Regions from separate parts of the Homo sapiens genome. Here all the other regions are linked to region 1. The links are contacts of gene promoters, found by promoter capture Hi-C in human tissues and cell types (Jung and others, 2019). All regions are on one chromosome and are shown on one strand. Each heading gives the region's core, a stretch centred on a gene start or on the middle of the fragment in contact. The rest is flanking DNA. Distances are from core to core; before and after follow the strand shown. Region 1 holds the start of LMAN1L (lectin, mannose binding 1 like). Region 2 holds the start of CLK3 (CDC like kinase 3). Region 3 has its middle 12 kb from the start of RPP25.

The links. The method cuts DNA at HindIII sites, captures the fragments that hold promoters and counts their contacts. A contact is called where the count stands out against the background at its distance.
Region 2: a contact is called between a fragment that was not itself captured here and the fragment with the promoter of LMAN1L in region 1, in 6 of the 25 tissues and cell types used here (aorta, dorsolateral prefrontal cortex, heart right ventricle and 3 more).
Region 3: a fragment that was not itself captured here is called in contact with the fragment with the promoter of LMAN1L in region 1 in 1 of the 25 tissues and cell types used here (lymphoblastoid cells).

Annotation. Positions count from the first base shown.
Region 1 is chr15:74,811,067-74,814,380 of GRCh38, forward strand. LMAN1L (lectin, mannose binding 1 like) reads left to right here and starts at 1,769. Exons shown (of 14, transcript NM_021819.3): 1 at 1,769-1,963. The coding sequence starts at 1,789. The HindIII fragment of the contact is 6,905 bases long and covers 1-3,314 here.
Region 2 is chr15:74,615,780-74,619,093 of GRCh38, forward strand. CLK3 (CDC like kinase 3) reads left to right here and starts at 57. Exons shown (of 13, transcript NM_001130028.2): 1 at 57-119. CLK3-AS1 (CLK3 antisense RNA 1) reads right to left here and starts at 13. Exons shown (of 9, transcript XR_007064715.1): 1 at 1-13. RefSeq lists a silencer at 1-111 and enhancers at 200-811, 812-1,422. The HindIII fragment of the contact is 8,305 bases long and covers 1-3,314 here.
Region 3 is chr15:74,967,535-74,970,848 of GRCh38, forward strand. No RefSeq gene overlaps it. Among named protein-coding and RNA genes, the nearest start is that of RPP25, 12 kb to the left of the region's middle. The HindIII fragment of the contact is 5,742 bases long and covers 1-3,314 here.

The sequences.
Region 1 (3,314 bases), core at 519-3,018:
AAATTAGCTAGCAAGGCACGGTAGTGTGTGCCTGTAGTCCCAGCTCCTCTACAATCCTGCCATTGCACTTCAGTCTGGGTGACAGTGAGACCCTGTTTCAAAAAATAATAAAAGTAGAAGATATAAGGAACCCCTGCATCCCGCCATCCAGCTTCAGCACTTACCAACTCAAGGTCAATTCTGTCTCATCTCTACCCCACCTGCTCACCAACAAGCCCTGGAATATTTTGAAGCAAATCCCCGATGTTACAGCAATTCATCTGTAAAGCTTTTGTATGTTTCTCCAAAAGACACTTTAAAAACATAACCACAAGCCAGGCGTGGTGGCTCATGCCTTTATTTCCAGCTATTCAGGAGGCAGGAGGATCCTTTGAGCCCAGAAGTTTGAGTCCATCCTTGGTAACATAGGAAGACACCACCTCTCAAAAAAAAAAAAAAAGGCCAGGCGCAGTGGCTCACGCCTGTAATCCCAACACTTTGGGAGGCCAAGTCAGGCGGATCACGAGGTCAGAAGATCGAGACCACCCTGGTTAACACGGTGAAATCCCATCTCTACTAAAAAATACAAAAAATTAGCCAGGCATGGTGGCGGGCACCTGTAGTCCCAGCTACTTGGGAGGCTGAGGCAGAAGAATGGTGTGAACCCGGGAGGCAGAGCTTGCAGTGAGCCAAGATCGCGCCACTGCACTCCAGCCCGGGCGATAGAGCGAGACTCCGTCTCAAAAAATAAATAAATAAAATAAAATAAAAAATAAAAAACATAACCACAATACCATATTAGTTCTCAATTTTTTTTTTCGAAATGGATTTTTGCTCTTATCACCCAGGCTGGAGTGCAATGGTGCAATCTCCGCTCACTACAATCTCTGCCTCCCAGGTTCAAGTGATTCTCCTGCCTCAGCCTCCCAAGTAGCTGGGATTACAGGCATGCACCACCAGGCCTGGCTAATTTTTTGTATTTTTTTTTAGTAGAGACAGAGTTTCACAATGTTGGCCAGGCTGGTCTCGAACTCCTGACCTCAGGTGATCCACCTGCCTTGGGCTCCCAAAGTGCTAAGATTACAGACATGAGCCACAGTGCCCTAAAATTTTTAACAATTCCTCAATATAGTCAAATATCCATTGTTCAAAAATATCCATTGTTCAAATTTCCCCAATATCTTTTTTTTTTTTTGCAGTTGGGTTAAAATTTGGCTCCAAACAAGGTCTGCACGTTGCGTTTTTGTGCTGTCTCTAAAGACTCCCTTCTTTTTTCCATGTAATGCTTTTGTTGAGGAAACCAGGCTGCTTGGAAGGATGAGCCTGGGGGAATTCGGGAGAGGGAGAGAGGGGGCAGGGAGGAGAGAAGGATGGGTGTCCAGATAGATGTGCCATCCATGCTGGGGGACACAGGCAGAATGTGGAGGCCTGTCTCCCTAACTGGGAGGGGAGGCCAGGGCTGCTGAAGGGTGGGGGCCAACCCTGGGCACCCCCCCTTCCCCTCTGCCGCATCCAACTGCTGGAAGTGATGGGAGACAGAAAGATGGCCTGAGTCAGGAGCAGGGGCAGAGCTCAGGTTGTCGTGGGGTCCCGCTGCCCACGTCAGACTGGAGGTGAGGGATGGGCGGGGCCTGACAGCAGGCCTGGAAGGAACAGGATGTCTATGCTGGAGATAGAGGGAGAGGACAGTGCCAAAACCCAGCTCCTGGCCAGTCCCCAGCTCCTCCCTGCCTGGCCCTATCCCAGGATCCCCTCCCCGGCCTCCCAGCTATGATCTACCCCGGGGCCCAGACTTCAGGCGCCTTCACGATGCCGGCGGTCAGTGGTCCAGGTCCCTTATTCTGCCTTCTCCTCCTGCTCCTGGACCCCCACAGCCCTGAGACGGGGTGTCCTCCTCTACGCAGGTTTGAGTACAAGCTCAGCTTCAAAGGCCCAAGGCTGGCATTGCCTGGGGCTGGAATACCCTTCTGGAGCCATCATGGAGGTGAGGGGCAGGGGTGGGGACCAGCTATGCCCAGGGTCCCTCAAAGTGCTGGAGGGGCTGTGACTTGGTGGGGAGTGGGTCTGTCACAGCCATCCTCTGTCCAGGGTGGGGCAAGGCCTGGGACAGTGCCAGGCACCCCAGGACCCCTTCCAGGCTTGTCTCCTGCTCCACCGCCTCAACACCCCCCACCCCTGCCCAAGCTGTTTCTCCTCTGCCTCTCTGCTTCCCTGCCCCAGGACTTCTCTCTTCTCCTCTGCCTCTCCTTGGACCCCTGCCCTTCCTCTACCTCTGACCTGTGAACACACAGACACATGCTCACACACTAAGTCCCAGGCACACAGAAGGCAATGTGGACCAGCACAAACCTCCACTCTCCCGGCTCCATCCCAGCGGGCCTGTGGCTGGCCATGAGAACTGGGGGCTACCTGGAGGGAAGCATCCTCATCCCAGGTGAGTGGGCACCAGCCCTTCCCTGTATGTGTGTTGTGGGTGGAAGCAGGCATGAGAGCATCTTAGCCCATAGGTTTGTATTCAGGGACTTCCAAACCCAGACCTACAAAGAGTGTGTCTTCTACCAGATCTTGTTCAAAAAAGGGTTTGTGATGATGGAACTACACGATAGAGGGAGTGAGCAAGAACAATGAGGATTAGAGTGGAGCGTGAAATAGTCTAGGAGCATGGCTTCCAAAACATATGCTGTGAGGTCTGTCCACCTGAGAGTTGGGCCATGGATTTAATTCTGAGCCTCTTAGCAGGCAAAGCAAAGACAGAAAGCAGATCGGCTGTGGATTTCTGTCTATAAAATGTGAGTTCTTGGCCAGGTGCAGTGGCTCACGCCTGTAATCCCAGCACTTTGGGAGGCCAAGGCGGATGAATCACGAGGTCAAGAGGTTGAAAACCATCCTGGCCAAAATGGTGAAACCCTGACTCTACTAAAAATACAAAAATTAGCTGGGTGTGGTGGCGTGCGCCTGTAGTCCCAGCTCCTCAGGAGGCTGAGGCAGGAGAATTGCTTGAACCTGGGAGGCCAAGGTTGCAGTGAGCTGAGATCCTGCCATTGCACTTCAGCCTGGGCACAGAGCCAGACTCTGGCTCAAAAAAAAAAAAAAAAAAGATGTGAGTTCTGAGAAATGGCACGATTCCTAACTAAAGCCAGGACAAAATATCCCTTTTTTTTTTGTGAGATGGAGTTTCACTCTTGTTGCCCAGGCTGGAGTGCAGTGGTGTGATCTTGGCTCACTGCAACCTTCACCTCCCAGATTCAAGTGATTCTCCTGCCTCAGCCTCCTGAGTAGCTGGGATTACAGGTGTGTGCCACCACACGCAGCTAATTTTTGTTTTTGTTTTTGTT
Region 2 (3,314 bases), core at 560-3,059, 200 kb before region 1:
TGGCGACGGCTGCGTCACGCGAGGGGGCGGGGCTGCCACGGGCGGAGGTCGCAGCCGGAAGCGGAAGAGGCGCTCGGAGCGGGGAGTGGGGCCTAGCTGCAGCCGGAGCCTGGGAGACGGTAAGTGTGGGCTGGGGTCCGCGGCGGCGACAGCGGCGGCGGCGGCCGGGGGTGAGTCGGCGGGGCAGGCGCGCTGGTGCCATTCGGTCTCGGCCTACTCCCTTTCTTTCTCCTCTTCGGCCCATATCGGGCCGCGACCTCTCACCCCTGACCCGCTGCTTCTGCCCCGGAGGGCGGTCACTGCAGACCCTGACCTCGACCCCACGGTGTTGAAGGCGGAGCCTGAACGGCCTCTGGGGCCGCTCAAGGGTCCAGTTTGGGCTCTGTGCCTGCCCGCGGAATGGGGTCGGGGTCCGACGTAGAAGAGCCAGAGAAGCCCTTCAGACCCCTCCCCTACCCCTGGCTTCAGGCTTAGTCCGCAGATGACTCCTCCCTTGGCGGCCTGGAGTTTGATTCTGGCCCAGTCCGGCTTTCCCTCTGTCCCCGGGTCTCCCCTCGGCGCCACTGGTGGCGGTTACAGGGGATGGGACTCTGAGACCCCCTGGGACCTGGGGCGGCAGGAAGGGACGCGAACGAGGGCGCAGGCTCCCCTGTGTGTTTTGTTGTGGTGGTAGAGCCACTCCAGCCCGGAGGATGGGCTAGGCCAAGCTGACAGTTCAAATCCCCTGGCTGCTCCTCCGTCCCGCCCGGGAGTCTCTAGCTTTAGTTCCGGGTGTGGGTGCCCTGATGTGGAGCTGGGGTGGAAATTGCCTGAACCAGGCCCCCATCAGAGGCGGAGTTGGCGGCCTTCCAGCTTCCCTTCTTGATGCCCTTGAAAAGGAGGAGCGTTTCACCGTTGGTGGTGGAGGCTTGCGAGGTGGCAGGTTTGAGGTTGCAGTGGTAGGGCAGTCCAGCCAAAAATAACCATGGGTGCTGGGGTGGCTGGAATCCGGGAGGGCAGCCGCTGACCTGGCTGGCTGCACTTCTAGTCAGCCCAGTTCTCTGGCCAGGAACAGCAAATGAGAAGCCGACAAGGCCTGTGCTCAAAGTTGACATCCTTGGCTTGGTTTTCTTCATATCACCTTTTTCCTCATTGTGCAGAGCAGAGCTTCCCAAAGCATAATTGTGGCCTTTAGCTGCTTTTTAAACAAGCTGTTTGCTGAGGTTTTCGAGAATCAGAGATAATTGAGAAATGGGCCCTAGAGCCCTGGCTGGGAGGATGATATCTGCTATTTCCAATATTTTACTTGCCTAGAATGTGTTAAAGGAAGGATACTCTTCTCTGTTATTGCTTTGTGTGTGGTACCTTATAACTCTCATGCTTGTCATCTCTTTTGCCAGGCTGAGAGATGTTATCTCCATTTTCCAGGCATGCTAACCAAGGCCTAGAGTGACTTGTCTAAGGTCATGAGGCTGGTATGTGACAGCACTAGGATTTAGTTTAGTTTTCTGCCAGAGCTCTTGCCTCCCAGTTTCCTTGGAAGGGACTTATAAAATGTCTGTAAGGCATTTAACACAGCCCTGAAGTGTTACCTGGAACTTTCAGATGTTCATGAAAAGCTGCCACTAGTACCTCTGTGGGCACAAAGCTGTGCTAGGCATTTCACTTATAGGAGAGAGATATTTAATCCTCACAGAACCTTGTAAGAGATTACTATTCCCTTGTTGCAAGATGAAGCTGACGGTCAGAGTAGTGTAATAATTTGTTCAAAGGCACACAGCTAGAAGTGGCAAGCCATGATTCAGATTGACATCTATATGACTCTGAAATTTTGTTTTCCATTGATGTGAATATGTATGGACATAAGAATCTTCTAGGTCCCAGGAGGTAGTCTTTGGCGTGGTGTGACTGTGACTGTGTCCTCCAGCTCTGGTGTTTGTCTGCCCAGTGAGGATGGGCAGGACCATACTTGCCTTGTGGCACGACATGTGCCCTGGCCAATAGAGCATCTTCTGGGTCAATTAGTGGGGTGTGAGTTCCTGCTTTCATTCCATAGCTTGGGCACCTGACCCAGAGTAATTGCAGGAAAACAGTGAAATATTAGTCAGCTGATTACCAAAACAACAAATCTAAGCTTTTGGGGAGGTGATTTCACAAAATATTTATCTCCAAAGACTTCCCAGGTACACGGGGGAAGACAAGTTAGTGGGGAGATGGAGGGCTTTCTTAGGGACACGGAGAGGCTCCCAGGGGTTTGGTCACATAGGCCTCACTGTCCTGCTCAAGCATGGGGAGCTGTTCTATGCTGCTTTTCTCCTGACAGACCCTGCTGGTGAGATGGGGCAGCCTCAGTGGGTTTGTACAAAATGTGCTTGGCCAGGCAAGCTCAGGACTGACCATGACTGGAGGTTGGCTGTGGCCAAGTGTGAGTGTTGGGAAGAAGGCTGGCTCCATGGAGGCAGTCAGGGATTGACGTATGGGTGGAGCAGGTTGCTGGCCTCACATGGCCAGCTTTCTCCGCTGGTGGCAGATCCAGCCTGGCAATTTCATTTGGTGGATATAAGTCCTCACTGAACAGGGATAGTGAGGTGGGGCTCTTTTACCTGCCAGATGGCTAACCCTCTGGCTATCCTGGGATAGGCGGAGGGTAGGATACTAGAGCCAGAGAGCTAGAAGAAGGGACAGTAACGGTACTGTTGGATAAAGGCAAGGCACCTGGCAGGGCACTGTGGGGGTCTAAAAGGGTGCTAAATGGGCCTCTGGAAAGAAAGTTAGATGCGCTGGGTCCACGTCCCCTTGGGTTGACCCTCAGGAGGGCTATGGAATGTTTGTGAGGCCTGTGTGCCTCTTTCTCCAAGGGCTGCTCTTCTAGTCTCTTGTGGCTCCTCATGCTCACTTGTGGTCCTTACTCCCTTGAGTGGGGTCCAGTTCAGGGCCCTAGCCAGACAGCGTTCAGCTTCTCAAACTTGAGGGCTTTGAGCCCTCGCCTCCTGTGTACAGCCCTTTGCCTGGCCTTTGGCTTTACAGAGCATTCACTTCACGGGACCGCCCCCCCGGGCGGGAGGGAATAGAGTGCAGGAGGCTCCCCTTTCTCCTGCCTTTGATCTCCCTGTGGTAGTGTTCACCGTCCCCACCCAGGGTTACTGCCTCAGCCCCTGGCCCTGGCTCACCCAGTTCCCTGAGCACCCAGGCCACCAGGCTAGTGATGCTCTGCTGGGAGCTGTTTGTTTGTTCACTGGCAGAGAAAGTTGTTTCCTATTGTCTGCTGTTTGACCAGTGTGACCTCAGAGTTCTTCTTCACTTCATAAACCTCTGGGAGGGGCCGCCTTCAAACA
Region 3 (3,314 bases), core at 342-2,841, 160 kb after region 1:
AGTTAGTTCTTCTGCTCCACTTAATACTGGCTGTGGTCACTCACATGGCTTCATTCAGCTGGGAGCTTGACAGAGGTCAGAACACTCAAGATGGCTTCATTCATAAGTCTAGTGCCTCTGCTGGGGTGGCTGGAAGGCTGGGGGTGTTGGCTGGGCCTCTCTTTTCATGGACTCTAGCCTAAGCTTCTTTCTTGAGTGGCTTGATCCCAAAACAGTGAAAATGGGAGCTGTCAGGCTTTGTAAGGCCTAGACCTAGATGTCACACATTATCATGTCCTCTACATTCCATTGGTCAAACCAAGATACATGTCTAGACCAGATTCAAGGGATAAGGAAATAAACTGTACCTCTTGGTGAAAGGCCTGACATGTATATACAGGAATGGGAGGAACTGTTGACAGCCATCTCTGCAGACAATCTACCACATGAACTAACTCATGTGTTTTTGTTTTTTGTTTTTGAGATGGAGTCTCGCCCTGTCGCCTAGGTTGGAGTGCAATGGCACGATCTCGGCTCACTGCAACCTCCGCCTCCCAGGTTCAAGCGATTCTTCTTCCTCAGCCTCCCAAGGAGCTGAGATTGCAGGTGCCCGCCACCACGCCTGGCTAATTTTTTTTTTTTTTTTTTTTTTTTTTTTTTTTGAGACGGAGTCTCGCTCTGTCGCCCAGGCTGGAGTGCAGTGGTGGAGTCTTGGCTCACTGCAAGCTCCGCCTCCTGGGTTCACGCCATTCTCCTGCCTCAGCCTCCAGAGTAGCTGGAACTACAGGTGCCTGCCACCACGCCTGGCTAATTTTTTTTTGTATTTTTAGTAGAGATGGGGTTTCATCATGTTGGCCAGGCTGGTCTCAAACGCCTGACCTTGTGATCTGCTGGCCTCAGCCTCCCAAAGTGCTGGGATTACAGGCGTGAGACACTGCGCCTGGCCTAGCTCATGCTTTTAAATAACGTATCTGTAGCTCAGTTTAGCCCAAGGTTGCAACTTCCTTTTTTTTTTTTTTTGAGACAGAGTATCTCTCTGTCGCCAGCCTGGAGTGCAGTGACCTGATCTCAGCTCACTGCAACTTCCATCTCCTGGGTTCAAGCAATTCCCTGCCTCAGCCTCCCAAGTAGCTAGGATTACAGGCGCCCACCACCATGCCTGGCTAATTTTTGTATATATATATTTTTTAGTAGAGACGGGGTTTCACCATCTTGGCCAGGCTAGTCTTGAACTCCTGACCTTGTGATCCACCTGCCTCAGCCTCCCAAAGTGCTGGGATTACAGGCGTGAGCCACCACACCCAGCCTCCTTTTATTTTTTTAATTTAAATTTTATTTTTTTGAGACAGAATCTTGCTGTGACGCCCAGGCTGGAGTGTAGTGGAGCAATCAGGGCTCACTGCAAACTCTGCCTCCTGAGTTCAAGCAATTCTCCTGTCTCAGCCTCCCGAGTAACTGGGATTGCAAGTGCCCACCACCACACCAGCTAATTTTTTGTATTTTTTGTATTTTTTTTTTTTTTAGTAGAGTAGGGGTTTTACCATGTTGGCCAGGCTGGTCTCGAACTCCTGACCTCAGGAGATTTGCCCGCCTCGGCCTCCCAAAGTGCTGGGATTACAGGTGTGAGCCACCGTGCCCGGCCATGCCCAACTAATTTTTGTGTTTTGTTTGTAGAGACGGGGTTTTGCCATGTTGACCAGTCTGGTCACAAACTCCTGGCCTCAAGTGATCCACCCGCCTCAGCCTCCCAAAGTGTTGGGATTACAGGCATGAGTAACCATGCCCAGCACAACTTTTTTTTTTTTTTTTTAAGACAAGGTCTCACTGCTGTCACCCAGGCAGGTGTGCAGTGGCACTATCACAGCTCATTGCAGACTCAACCTCTCAGGCTCAGGTGATCCTCCCACCTCATTTTTAGATTTTTTTTTTTTTTTTTTGTAGGGATGGGGTCTTACTATGTTGCCCAGGCTGGTCTGGAACTCCTGGGCTCAAGCAATACTCCTGCCTCGGTCTCTTAAAGTGTTGGGATTACAGGCGTGAGCCACTGCTCTGGGCCAAGGTTGCAACTTCTACTTGAAACTTTCAGGGAATTCACCTGGAAATGCAGGGGCTTTTTTTTTTTTTTTTTTTTTTTTTTTTTTTTTGAGACAGAGTCTCACTTTGCTGCCCAGGCTGGAGTGCGGTGGTGCGATCTTGGCTCACTGAAACCTCTGCCTCCCAGGTTCAAGCGATTCTCCTGCCTCAGCCTCCCAAGTAGCTGGGACTATAGGTGTGCACCACCATGCCTGGCTAATTTTGTATTTTTAGTAGAGACGAGGTTTCACCATGTTGGCCAGGCTGGTCTCGACCTCTTGACCTCAGGTGATCCTACTTTGGGATTGTTTCCACCCATCAGCCTGAATCCCAAAGCTGCCTAGTTCCTAACCTGAAGGGAAGAAGGCCAGGTGATTGGCTGGGTGCAGTGACTCACACTTGTAATCCCAGCACTTTGGGAGGCCAAGGCAGGCGGATCACCTGAGGTCAGGAGTTCGAGACCAGCCTGGCCAACATGGCGAAACCCCCCATCTCTACTAATAATAATAAAAAAAATTAGCCAGAAAAGAAGACCAGGTGATTAATGAGATCTCTTTATTTTATTTTTAGAGGGAGTCTCACTTTGTCACCCAGGCTGGAGTGCAGTGGTGCAATCTCGGCTCACTGCAACCTCTGCCTCCTGGGTTCAACTGATTCTTCTGCCACAGCCTCCCTAGTAGCTGGGATTACAGGCACATGCCACCACAGCCTTTTAGTAGAGACAGGGTTTCCCCATGTTGGCCAGGCTGGTCTCAAACTTCTGACCTCAAGTGATCTGCCCTCCTCGGCCTCCCAAAGTGCTGGGAATACAGGCGTGAGCACCGCGCCTGGCCTATTTTATTTTATTTTATTTTTTTGAGACAGAGTCTTGCTCAGTTGCCCAGGCTGGAGTACAGTGGCATGATCTCAGCTCACTGCAACCTCCCTGGTTCAAGCAATTCCCCTGCCTCAGCTTCCCAAGTAGCTGGGATTACGGGCACATGCCGCCACGCGTGGCTACCTTTTTTGTATTTTTAGTAGAGACAGGGTTTCACCATGTTGGCCAGACTGGTCTTGAACTCCTGACCTCAAGTGATCTGCCCTCCTCTGCCTCCCAAAGTGCTGGGATTACAGGCGTGACCCACTACGCCCCGCCCATTTTATTTTTTGGAGACAGAGTCTCACTCTGTTGCCCACGCTGATGTGCAGTGGCACAATCATAGCTCACTGCAGCCTTGATTGCCTGGGCTCAAGGGATCCTCCTGACTCAGCCTCCTGAGTAA